Linked DNA regions of Homo sapiens: region 2 is linked to region 1. Evidence: promoter capture Hi-C in 16 types of primary human blood cells and fetal thymus (Javierre and others, 2016). All regions are on one chromosome and are shown on one strand. Each heading gives the region's core, a stretch centred on a gene start or on the middle of the fragment in contact. The rest is flanking DNA. Distances are from core to core; before and after follow the strand shown. Region 1 holds the start of SLC36A4 (solute carrier family 36 member 4). Region 2 holds the start of CCDC82 (coiled-coil domain containing 82).

What was found. The method cuts DNA at HindIII sites, captures the fragments that hold promoters and counts their contacts. A CHiCAGO score of 5 or more calls a contact.
Region 2: the fragment with the promoter of CCDC82 here is called in contact with the fragment with the promoter of SLC36A4 in region 1 in 7 of 17 cell types (total B cells, fetal thymus, naive CD4 T cells and 4 more); the score reaches 9.9 in total B cells.

What each region holds. Positions count from the first base shown.
Region 1 is chr11:93,196,082-93,200,879 of GRCh38, forward strand. It overlaps SLC36A4 (solute carrier family 36 member 4), which reads right to left and starts at 1,910. Exons shown (of 11, transcript NM_152313.4): 1 at 1,697-1,910. The coding sequence starts at 1,751. RefSeq lists a silencer at 1,672-2,051. The HindIII fragment of the contact is 1,801 bases long and covers 727-2,527 here.
Region 2 is chr11:96,388,662-96,393,459 of GRCh38, forward strand. It overlaps CCDC82 (coiled-coil domain containing 82), which reads right to left and starts at 1,251. Exons shown (of 10, transcript NM_024725.4): 1 at 1,183-1,251. JRKL (JRK like) reads left to right here and starts at 1,352. Exons shown (of 2, transcript NM_001261833.2): 1 at 1,352-1,412; 2 at 1,822-4,798. The coding sequence starts at 1,989. The coding sequence ends at 3,563. RefSeq lists a silencer at 1,165-1,424. The HindIII fragment of the contact is 1,223 bases long and covers 809-2,031 here.

The sequences.
Region 1 (4,798 bases), core at 660-3,159:
TCAATGAATATGTGTTGAATTAATGAAAATATAAAACTTAAAAAAACTGAAATAATTTGAAACTTTTTTTCAGTTAAAGAAAATGTACATGCTGAACATCTTTCCACATCACTTTTAATGGTAGGCAATGTAAAACTATACCACAATTTAACCAATTTCCTTTCATTGTACTTTAGTTAACAGCTTTTCTCTATATACTATAATGAAAACCTCTTGATATAAGTATGGGTTACATTACTTATTTCCTCGGGAAATATTCTGAAGGAGAATTGCTGGGTCAAACGATAAGCACTTTTTTTTTTTGAGACAGAGTCTCGCTCTGTTGCCCAGGCTGGAGTGCAGTGGCACGATCTCGGCTCACGGCAAGCTCCGCCTCCCGGGTTCACGCCATTCTCCTGCCTCAGCCACCCGAGTAGCTGGGACTACAGGCGCCCGCCACCACGCCCGGCTAATTTTTTGTGTTTTTAGTAGAGACGGGGTTTCACCGTGTTAGCCAGGATGGTCTCCATCTCCTGACCTTGTGATGATCCGGCCGCCTCAGCCTCCCAAAGTGCTGGGATTACAGGCGTGAGCCACCGCGCCAGGCCGATATGTACATTTTTAAGGCTAAATATATTATCCCTTTCCTGCCAGCAATGCATGAGAATACCCATTTCTCCATATCCTCACTAAGACAGGTTATTAATGAATGAAACCTGAGTTCACATTTGGGTTCTGCCATTAATAAGCTTAAAATTACTGTATCTATAAAATGGAAATCATGATAGCACCTATCTCAGTTGCTGTGAGGATTAAAGACAATGCATAGGTAAAGCACTTAGCACAGTGTTTGCACACAGTAAGCACGCAATAAAATGTTAAGTTTATTGTTTCTACCATTATTACGGCCTGAAAACAATTCCATTGCAAAGTGCCCTGCAGGCTATTAGAGGAATAACAACAACCTATCAGTTACTTATAATACGGTATTTTTTAAAGTTCAACGGTTTTCTTGAAGATTCCATTTAGATTTAATTTTTTAATTACATTTAATCAGCATCGAATGAAAAATACTCCCAAGTACAGTACGTATAACTGGGAGAGCGATCATTTTACCACCCTGATCCTTACTTTTTTATTTTGGACAGCGGGAAACCGTAAACAAACACGCCCTGTCGCCAAGAAACAAGATGGGAGGAAAGCAGCAAAAAACAAACAAACTTTGCCAAGTGAGCAAGCTACAGGTATCTCCTGTTCATTCTGGTCAGCACGACCTGTTCGAAACTCTGGGATAACAAGGAGTAAAATGAGGATTCATCTGGAGATTCCGAATGGGGCTGCAGCATTTGAAAAGCAGAACAATGATAACTTCCTTAAAGCATCATTGGGAAAAAAACCGTGAGTCACGGCGCAGGCTCTTGCGTCTTTGACGTGTACCCACAGGGCCCCGCCCCACTCAACACACACACTCACCCACACGCGCGCGCGCAAACACACACACACATATTTTAACGCCCTATTCAGGCCTGGGCTTCGTCTGACCAAGTTCTCGGGGTCAGATAACCGGTTCCTTTGCGGATGCTGACCACGGGGTCAGTTAGCAATCGGGCCTCAACTCAGGCCAAGCGCGGGGCCCCTGGAGGTGTGGGCGCACCCGACTCCCGCACAGACCCCCGCCCACGTCAGCCCCGGCTCCCTGCCCACGCACAACACCGACCTAGCTCCTCGCGCCTCGCCGCCCCGGCAGCCGCCGGCGTCGCCGCCGCTTCCATCTCTCGCGGGTCTCCAGGACGCCGCCGCCCGAGTGCTCACTCTCCCGCCGCTGCGTGGCCGGCGTCAGGCCCAGGCCTACCTCCCCTGCCCGGAGGGACCCGCGCCTGGTGCCCGCCTCCCTGCCCCGGCGCTCCCCAACCGCGCGGCGAGGAGCATGCGCAGTGGGACAGCCCGGCTCGGCGGGCACCGCCGGCGAGGGGCGGGAGGGGCCGAAGACCCGAGGACTGCTGCGAGGCCGGGTTGGGTAACCCGAGAGGAGGGTTGGGTAACCTGAGATCAGCGAGGGTGGGACCTTAGAGCTAGCCGAGACCCGGGCCCATAGCTCCCTGGGGGTTTTAAAGATGACGGCGAACTTAAATTTGGGGCGCCTGTCCGTATGCAAGGCGTTAGCGTTCTGTAAGTCACCTTGGAGAATGCGAAGAAGGACGGGATTTGTCCCCTACCCATGCTGAGGTTCTGACTACTCTGGTTATTCGTCTCCCTGTTTCTATAGTTAGAGTTACAGGAGACACTTAAATAGAATTTAATTAAGTCATATACAATTTCACTTTCAGGATATTTCAATGTCCTTCCAGATATTTGACGTTGACCGTGGTGCTGAAAGAAAATTAAGGTAAAGACTAAGTGTACTGATGTAGTTTCAAGTACTCCTAAGCACCATACATACATTATCTTTAATTCTGACTACAATTTGTGAGATAATTCTAATATTTACATTAACGCTAAAGATGAAGGGATTAAGGCACGGAGGTAAGTAACGTGTCTGGGGACAGGAAGCTTGTACATGGCAGAAGTAGAATCCTTCTGCCTTCAGAGCTGGAGCTCTCGAAAAATATGCAAAGCTGGCCTCCCAGATGGGTACCAATGAATATTCGATGAATCAATGGATGAAGCAAGCTTTTGGTTTAAAAGGAAAATATTTATTTTAATTTTAAAATCGCTTTCTTTTTTTTTTCACTTCATAGTTCTTGGAAGTCAGTACACCAGACAATCCTTTTTATTTGTGTCCGTTTCATTCAGTGGGGTTGCTTTAGGAAAGGGTTTTTTTGGGGGGGAGTGGGTCTGATTAACAGTCACTGATGTAACTATATGGCAATGGTGTTAAATATTTAAAATTCTGAGATTAAAAAGGTACGCAGTTACATACTATCTACATCTTTCCTCCTGTTGCATCCTCTGTAGGCTTTCACTAGATAACTAGTGATAATGACAGTTTGCCAACCCCCTTTCTTTTCCTTTAAGTGAACCCAATTTGTTCACATACATACACATGCAAATCCCAAAAGAAGGTTTTATTTGAAGTGTTCCTGACAAATAAAGGGGTAAAGGAGATTTTTTTTAAAAAAGAAGAAGAAGAAGAAATCTATTCTGGAACATAGCTAGAGCAATGTTCCCTAACCTGTGTTGGGGTGGATCACCTGGTTAAAGATCAGCAGGAGAGAAGATAGGCATCAGACAGAAATTATAGGACCAAGGTAATTTTCCATAAACCACTCATTATAATGAGAACATGTGGGACAGCATCTTAAAAGAACATTATCCTTTGAGAGTTAAAAGGGATCAAAAGTCATTGTCCCCTAATCTCAGCTTCAGGGAAAGCAGATCTGGCAATATGGAAGGAAGAAAAGTTTGACTTGTAGTATAGGCCTGAAATCTTTTGAAGAGGGTTGGGCTGAGGTAGGAGGCCCAATGTCTTTACAGTGATGTGGAGATAAAGCAAGTGATAACAATGATCATAAGATTCAAGAGAAATATGTTTTTCATGCATCTCTACTTGAGAACATATTTACTAGGACTTCTACTCCAGGTCTTATAAATTAGAAGCAGATATAAAGTACAGCTGTATCAAAATAGAGACATTATACAGAATGTGACAATTTGAACCCTGGAAATTCATTTCTTTTCCTGACTTTAACTTCTTGCATCACATCTTAACTACTTCCTTCTTTGCAACTGCAGCACTTTGTTCGTATCTCTGTTACAACACTTCTCCACTTATAATTATTCCTCTTTCTGGGCTTTATACTATGCTGTATACTATTATGTGCAAGGCACTGTGCTAGGCCTGTTGAGGAATTAACTGTATTTGTCTTTGTCCAAACAGGCCTAGCACAGTGACTTACAAATACCAGTCACTCAATGAACAGTTGTTGAAAGTTACTGAATATAGCCTCATAGGTATATGAAAGGAAACATTTAGAAGTCTTTAATGTATTCAAGCACATTTTACGGAGCACCTTCCATATATCAGGAAGTATGCTAGATGCTGGGGCTAGAAGGGCAAATAATGTTGGTATGGTCCCTACTGTCATGGAGTTCATAGTATATAGCATGTGACAGAACAGAACAAAACAAAATACTAAATATGTCATTACAATTGTTGGTTAGGAAAATAACAGGGTACCACCACGGAACCTACTTTAGATTGAGAAGGTGGGATAGTCTTATCTGAAGACACTTAAGCTGACACATGAAGGTAAGAAGGAGTTGGCTTGGTGTGTGTAGAGGGAAGAGCATTTCCAGCAGTGAATCTAGCCTTTCCTCTTTTACAGATGGAGAAATGGTTCTGTTTTAGACACCTGTGGAACATCTAGATAGAGTTGTCTATTATATAATAGTTAGATCTCTAAAGTTTTCTTATGTGAAAAATAATGTCACCAACCTTACAAGTTGTGAAGATTTAATGAGATAAAATATATAAAGCATTAACACATTGCCTGATTCACAGGAAGCATCAAATAAAGTGAGCATATTAGCTATAGTTTTTTTTTTTTAATTGCAATACAGAGGACAATTCAAACTAGCTTAAGCCAAAAGAGGAATTTAATGAGGACACTGAGATTGCTAGAACAGAGATGAGACTGGGCTCAGGACAACTGATTCTTATGCCTCTGAGACTCTCTTCTTCAGTGATCGCTTTTCTCTGTGCATCTGCTTGTGTGTCTGTGCAGGTTTCCACTGCAGAACTCCTCTGCTTCTCAGGTTCACCTGGTAGGAAACATGTTTCCTAAAAGCTCTCAATTCTTTTATCTTAGAGTTTGAATGA
Region 2 (4,798 bases), core at 1-2,500, 3.2 Mb after region 1:
CTCAAGAAAAGATTCATTCTAGAAATCACCTACTTGCTGTATAAACAATGCAGGTGGTAGTTAACACTTTACAGATTTGAAAGGCAGTGGAACCCCAGGTCATTATTTGAAATTCTACCAGGAGGGATCCATTCTTGGGTGTAAAACATCACTCCTCTTCGATGTTTTCTTTTATATGGCAGTTTGGAGAGCAAAGATTAATAAGCCGAAAAATAATTATTGAATATCTACCAAAATGCAAGCACCTGCTAGGAACTGTGCTGCCACCATTTCAAATAAACATGGTCTCTGCTCCCAAGGAGCTCACAATCTGATGAAATTACTAGGGACACCAAAAACAAGCCAGCATAATACACGATTTGAGGGCTACAGTGTATGATTAAGATCAAGTTCTTATCACACTGCTATGAATAAATTTATCATAGTTCTTCTATTGGCAGGAAAACAAGACAGAACATGACAGAAATAGGATATAAGAAAATAAACATAAAGAGAGGAAAGCCTATTTCCCCCACTTAGAATCACAGTCCAACAGTCCACAATTTCGCAAAGTGGATCCTGCCAGCATGGTATCCGGGATAACTATATTATTCATTAAAATCCGTTAACAATGAAGGTTAATGCAGCAGGAATGAGTGGTAGACAGTGGAATAGATCCTCTCAGGAATTAACACCCGGAAGGGTGACTTTCATGATTACAAACCTCTTTGGCGGGACGCAGGAACCCAGCGCCCGCTAGCCCACTAGTCCGTCACTCTGCCTCCAGGAGGGAGGGGCACAGTAGCTAGGAAACCGGACCCTCAGGCCAAGCTTCGCGATGACGCGCGCAGGACGACGGAAACCCCCAGACCCCAAAAGAGCTCTGCACCGAGAAAACAATTACAAGGGTCTGGAAAGGCCAGAAACCCGAGAAATCACCAACCGAGCTCCCTACATCAGTTCCAAGCACCTCCCCAAGGCGGAAATAACGGGCACCGCGCCCACTGCAGCTCAGCTGAGGAGGGTTAGAGGCGCAAAGGGCTGAGGGGCGTTCTCCGGCCCACCCAAAGAGCGCCCGCGGGAATTTTTCTCTTAGTCCGCGAGGAGGCACGGCTTCCCCCGCCCCTCTCATAAACCATTAGCACCGGGAGCGCGAGCGAGTCCCAGCCGGGAGACAGCCCCGCACCGCCCTCGCGCTCTCACCTTTCAAAGCGCCTCCACCTCTGCCTCCGCCTCCGCCCCTGCCCCGGCAACCAGCTCAGGACAAGCGATGCTCCTCCCCCCCTTCCGGGGACCAAGGGAAGTCCCGCCTCTGGGTGGGGCGAGGGGTGGGGCCAGGCGGCGGGAGGGATCATCTTCCGGGAGCGTGGCTAGGGGCGGAGCGACTGCCGCGCGATAGTCAGGGAGCTGTGCGGGTCCTGGTTGCAAGAGAGGTGGGGAGAGGGGCCTGGCGGGTTTTGAGGGACTGGGAGGACTGTCCCGGCTAAAGCTGGCGCGGGAAACTGGGGCTGCGCGGCGGGAGGGCCCTGCTGCTGGGGAAGGAATCTAATATATCCGTTCCCCTGAGGAAGGGTGCCAGTCCTTGACTCCTAGGCTCTTCGGCTCTCTGTCGTAACTTTGGGGTGTGGCAGGGGTTAGTGACGCGCGGTTACCCGGGATCTGGACGTGCAGGAGGTTCGTGGCCACAATGGGGGTATAGTCTTTCTCACGGCTGCTGGGGTAATAAAACACATGCTTTTAATCCGGATTATCCGCGGTGACATGGGGCCTCCGCTACTGCCCGTATAAGTTAAAGAAAGGCCTGTTCTCTCAAACTTCCTCCTCTTTCACCTTCTTCTGCAGTCTATTTGCCAGCCAACCCCAGCCCGGGAGGGGATCAGGGCCACCAGGTTGCTGGTAAGGATGAAAGACTGAGTGTGTTAAGACTGTTGAAGTGAGCCTGTGTAAGAGAAGGAAGGATTTTGTGGATTGCTACATTGTGAGTGTGGGGTGAGTCCCAGAACCTCGCTATGTCAGGGAAACGGAAGCGTGTGGTGTTGACTATTAAAGATAAGCTTGATATAATAAAGAAACTTGAAGACGGAGGTTCTTCCAAACAACTGGCAGTGATTTATGGAATTGGTGAAACAACAGTTCGGGATATAAGAAAAAATAAGGAAAAGATTATAACTTATGCAAGCAGTTCTGATTCCACAAGTCTTTTGGCCAAGAGGAAATCTATGAAGCCATCCATGTATGAGGAATTGGACAGGGCAATGCTGGAATGGTTCAACCAGCAAAGAGCAAAAGGGAATCCCATATCTGGACCAATTTGTGCAAAAAGGGCAGAGTTCTTCTTTTATGCTTTGGGAATGGATGGTGATTTTAACCCCTCTGCCGGTTGGCTAACTCGTTTTAAGCAGCGGCACAGCATTAGAGAGATTAACATTAGAAATGAAAGATTAAATGGAGATGAGACTGCGGTGGAAGATTTTTGTAATAACTTTCGAGATTTTATTGAACGAGAGAATTTACAGCCTGAACAAATCTACAATGCAGATGAAACTGGACTCTTTTGGAAGTGCTTGCCTTCTAGGATTTCAGTAATCAAAGGTAAATGCACTGTCCCTGGGCACAAATCAATTGAAGAAAGAGTCACAATCATGTGTTGTGCCAATGCAACAGGTTTACACAAACTTAAACTTTGTGTTGTGGGGAAAGCAAAGAAACCTCGCTCCTTTAAATCAACTGACACCTTAAACCTGCCAGTCTCTTATTTCAGCCAAAAAGGTGCATGGATGGATCTTTCCATTTTCCGACAATGGTTTGATAAAATTTTTGTGCCGCAAGTTCGAGAGTATTTAAGATCTAAAGGCTTGCAGGAAAAGGCTGTGCTCTTGTTGGATAATTCACCAACACATCCAAATGAAAATGTCCTAAGGTCAGATGATGGCCAAATATTTGCTAAATATTTACCACCTAATGTGGCCTCATTGATTCAGCCTTCAGATCAGGGAGTCATAGCAACGATGAAGAGAAATTATCGTGCAGGTCTTCTCCAGAACAACTTGGAAGAAGGTAATGACCTGAAATCATTCTGGAAGAAGCTAACTCTGTTGGATGCACTTTATGAAATAGCAATGGCATGGAACTTAGTAAAACCAGTTACCATTAGCAGAGCATGGAAGAAGATTCTCCCTATGGTAGAGGAGAAAGAGAGCCTGGACTTTGATGTTGAAGATATTTCTGTGGCTACTGTGGCTGCCATTTTACAACACACCAAAGGATTGGAAAATGTGACTACTGAGAACCTTGAAAAATGGCTTGAAGTAGACAGTACTGAACCAGGCTATGAAGTGTTAACTGATAGCGAAATCATCAGAAGAGCACAAGGCCAGGCAGATGAATCCAGTGAAAATGAGGAGGAGGAAATAGAACTAATTCCAGAGAAACATATTAATCATGCAGCTGCCCTCCAGTGGACTGAAAATTTATTGGATTATCTAGAACAACAAGGTGATATGATTCTACCTGATAGACTGGTAATACGTAAACTTCGAGCCACCATCAGAAATAAACAGAAGATGACAAAGTCAAGTCAATAATGTCATTTCAATTTTATTGTTCTGCTCATTGTGTTTGTGACAAACTCTTTGCAATATGGCTTAATTTTCTTTGTGTTCTGAATTCTCAGACTTGGTCCTGTGAAATACAGGCACAAAATGTATCTGAAGTGGTTTGAGGATTATGTGTTTTCATCATCTGTGTCTTTTGTCCTTTTATTTGTACAGATAATCAGAAGATGATACTGAATAGATATAAATTACATGTACACATGTATTCACTTTTTAGAATCTGCAATTATACCTTCTGTAACAGTGGCATTCCCTTAATTTTCTAGTGAAAGTTAGAGATAACTGAACAGACTGAAGCACTTTTCTGAAATCTTTTGCTTGATTTATGAAGGCTGCCATAGTTATCTTTTCTTGTGTTAACCATCTTAAATGATGTTTTGTATATTTTAATAGACTGATAGGATGAGAAAGATTTATATTATTAGATTTCAGGATGATTTATAATAATTCAAAAATGAAATTCAATAATGGGGAAATAATTATGAATTATAGAAATTATGCCTTCATTCTCTTACATTTGTGTGGGTTGCAAGAGGGGGAGATTATTCTGGAAATGAAGTAAATATGGGAAGTTATTGCCAAATGAGAGAGAAACTATGGGAAAGCTGATCTATAAAGAGGCATTCTGATCAATTCATTTGTAGGAAACTGGGAAATAAAAACCTGGGGAACTTTAGGTTATTTATACAAAGGGAATAAATAGGCTGATTTTAATTTGGTAAGTTGATCTTTTTATTATGAATTTGGTAATAGTATAGGTTTATTATTTATTCATCTAATTTTATAGTACAGGTTTTGTAATGTTACATGTGATGATATGAGCTCCCACCTTATATGGGGGAACATCTTGGGAATTTGAGATTTAATAAGTTTTTTTTTTTTTTTTTTTAGTGTTTTTACTGCATACTCACAAATGTTGTCTATAATTTGAAAAATATTGTCATATCTGGCCCTTTGATGAGAAAAGGAAATTACAATAATAAAGTTTTATGATTTTAAATAAGTCATATGTTTGTATCCTGTTTTATGAAGAAAGCAGAAATAATTACTGAAAGTGCCAGACACTAAGGAATATTATTGTTTATTATTTTAATACATATAAAAAGGGATTAATCTGCTAAAATGTAATCTAAATCAGAATTTTGATAAATTTTTTTTGTAAACTAAGTATGTTTATTCAAGACATTGAAACTACTTTGCACATA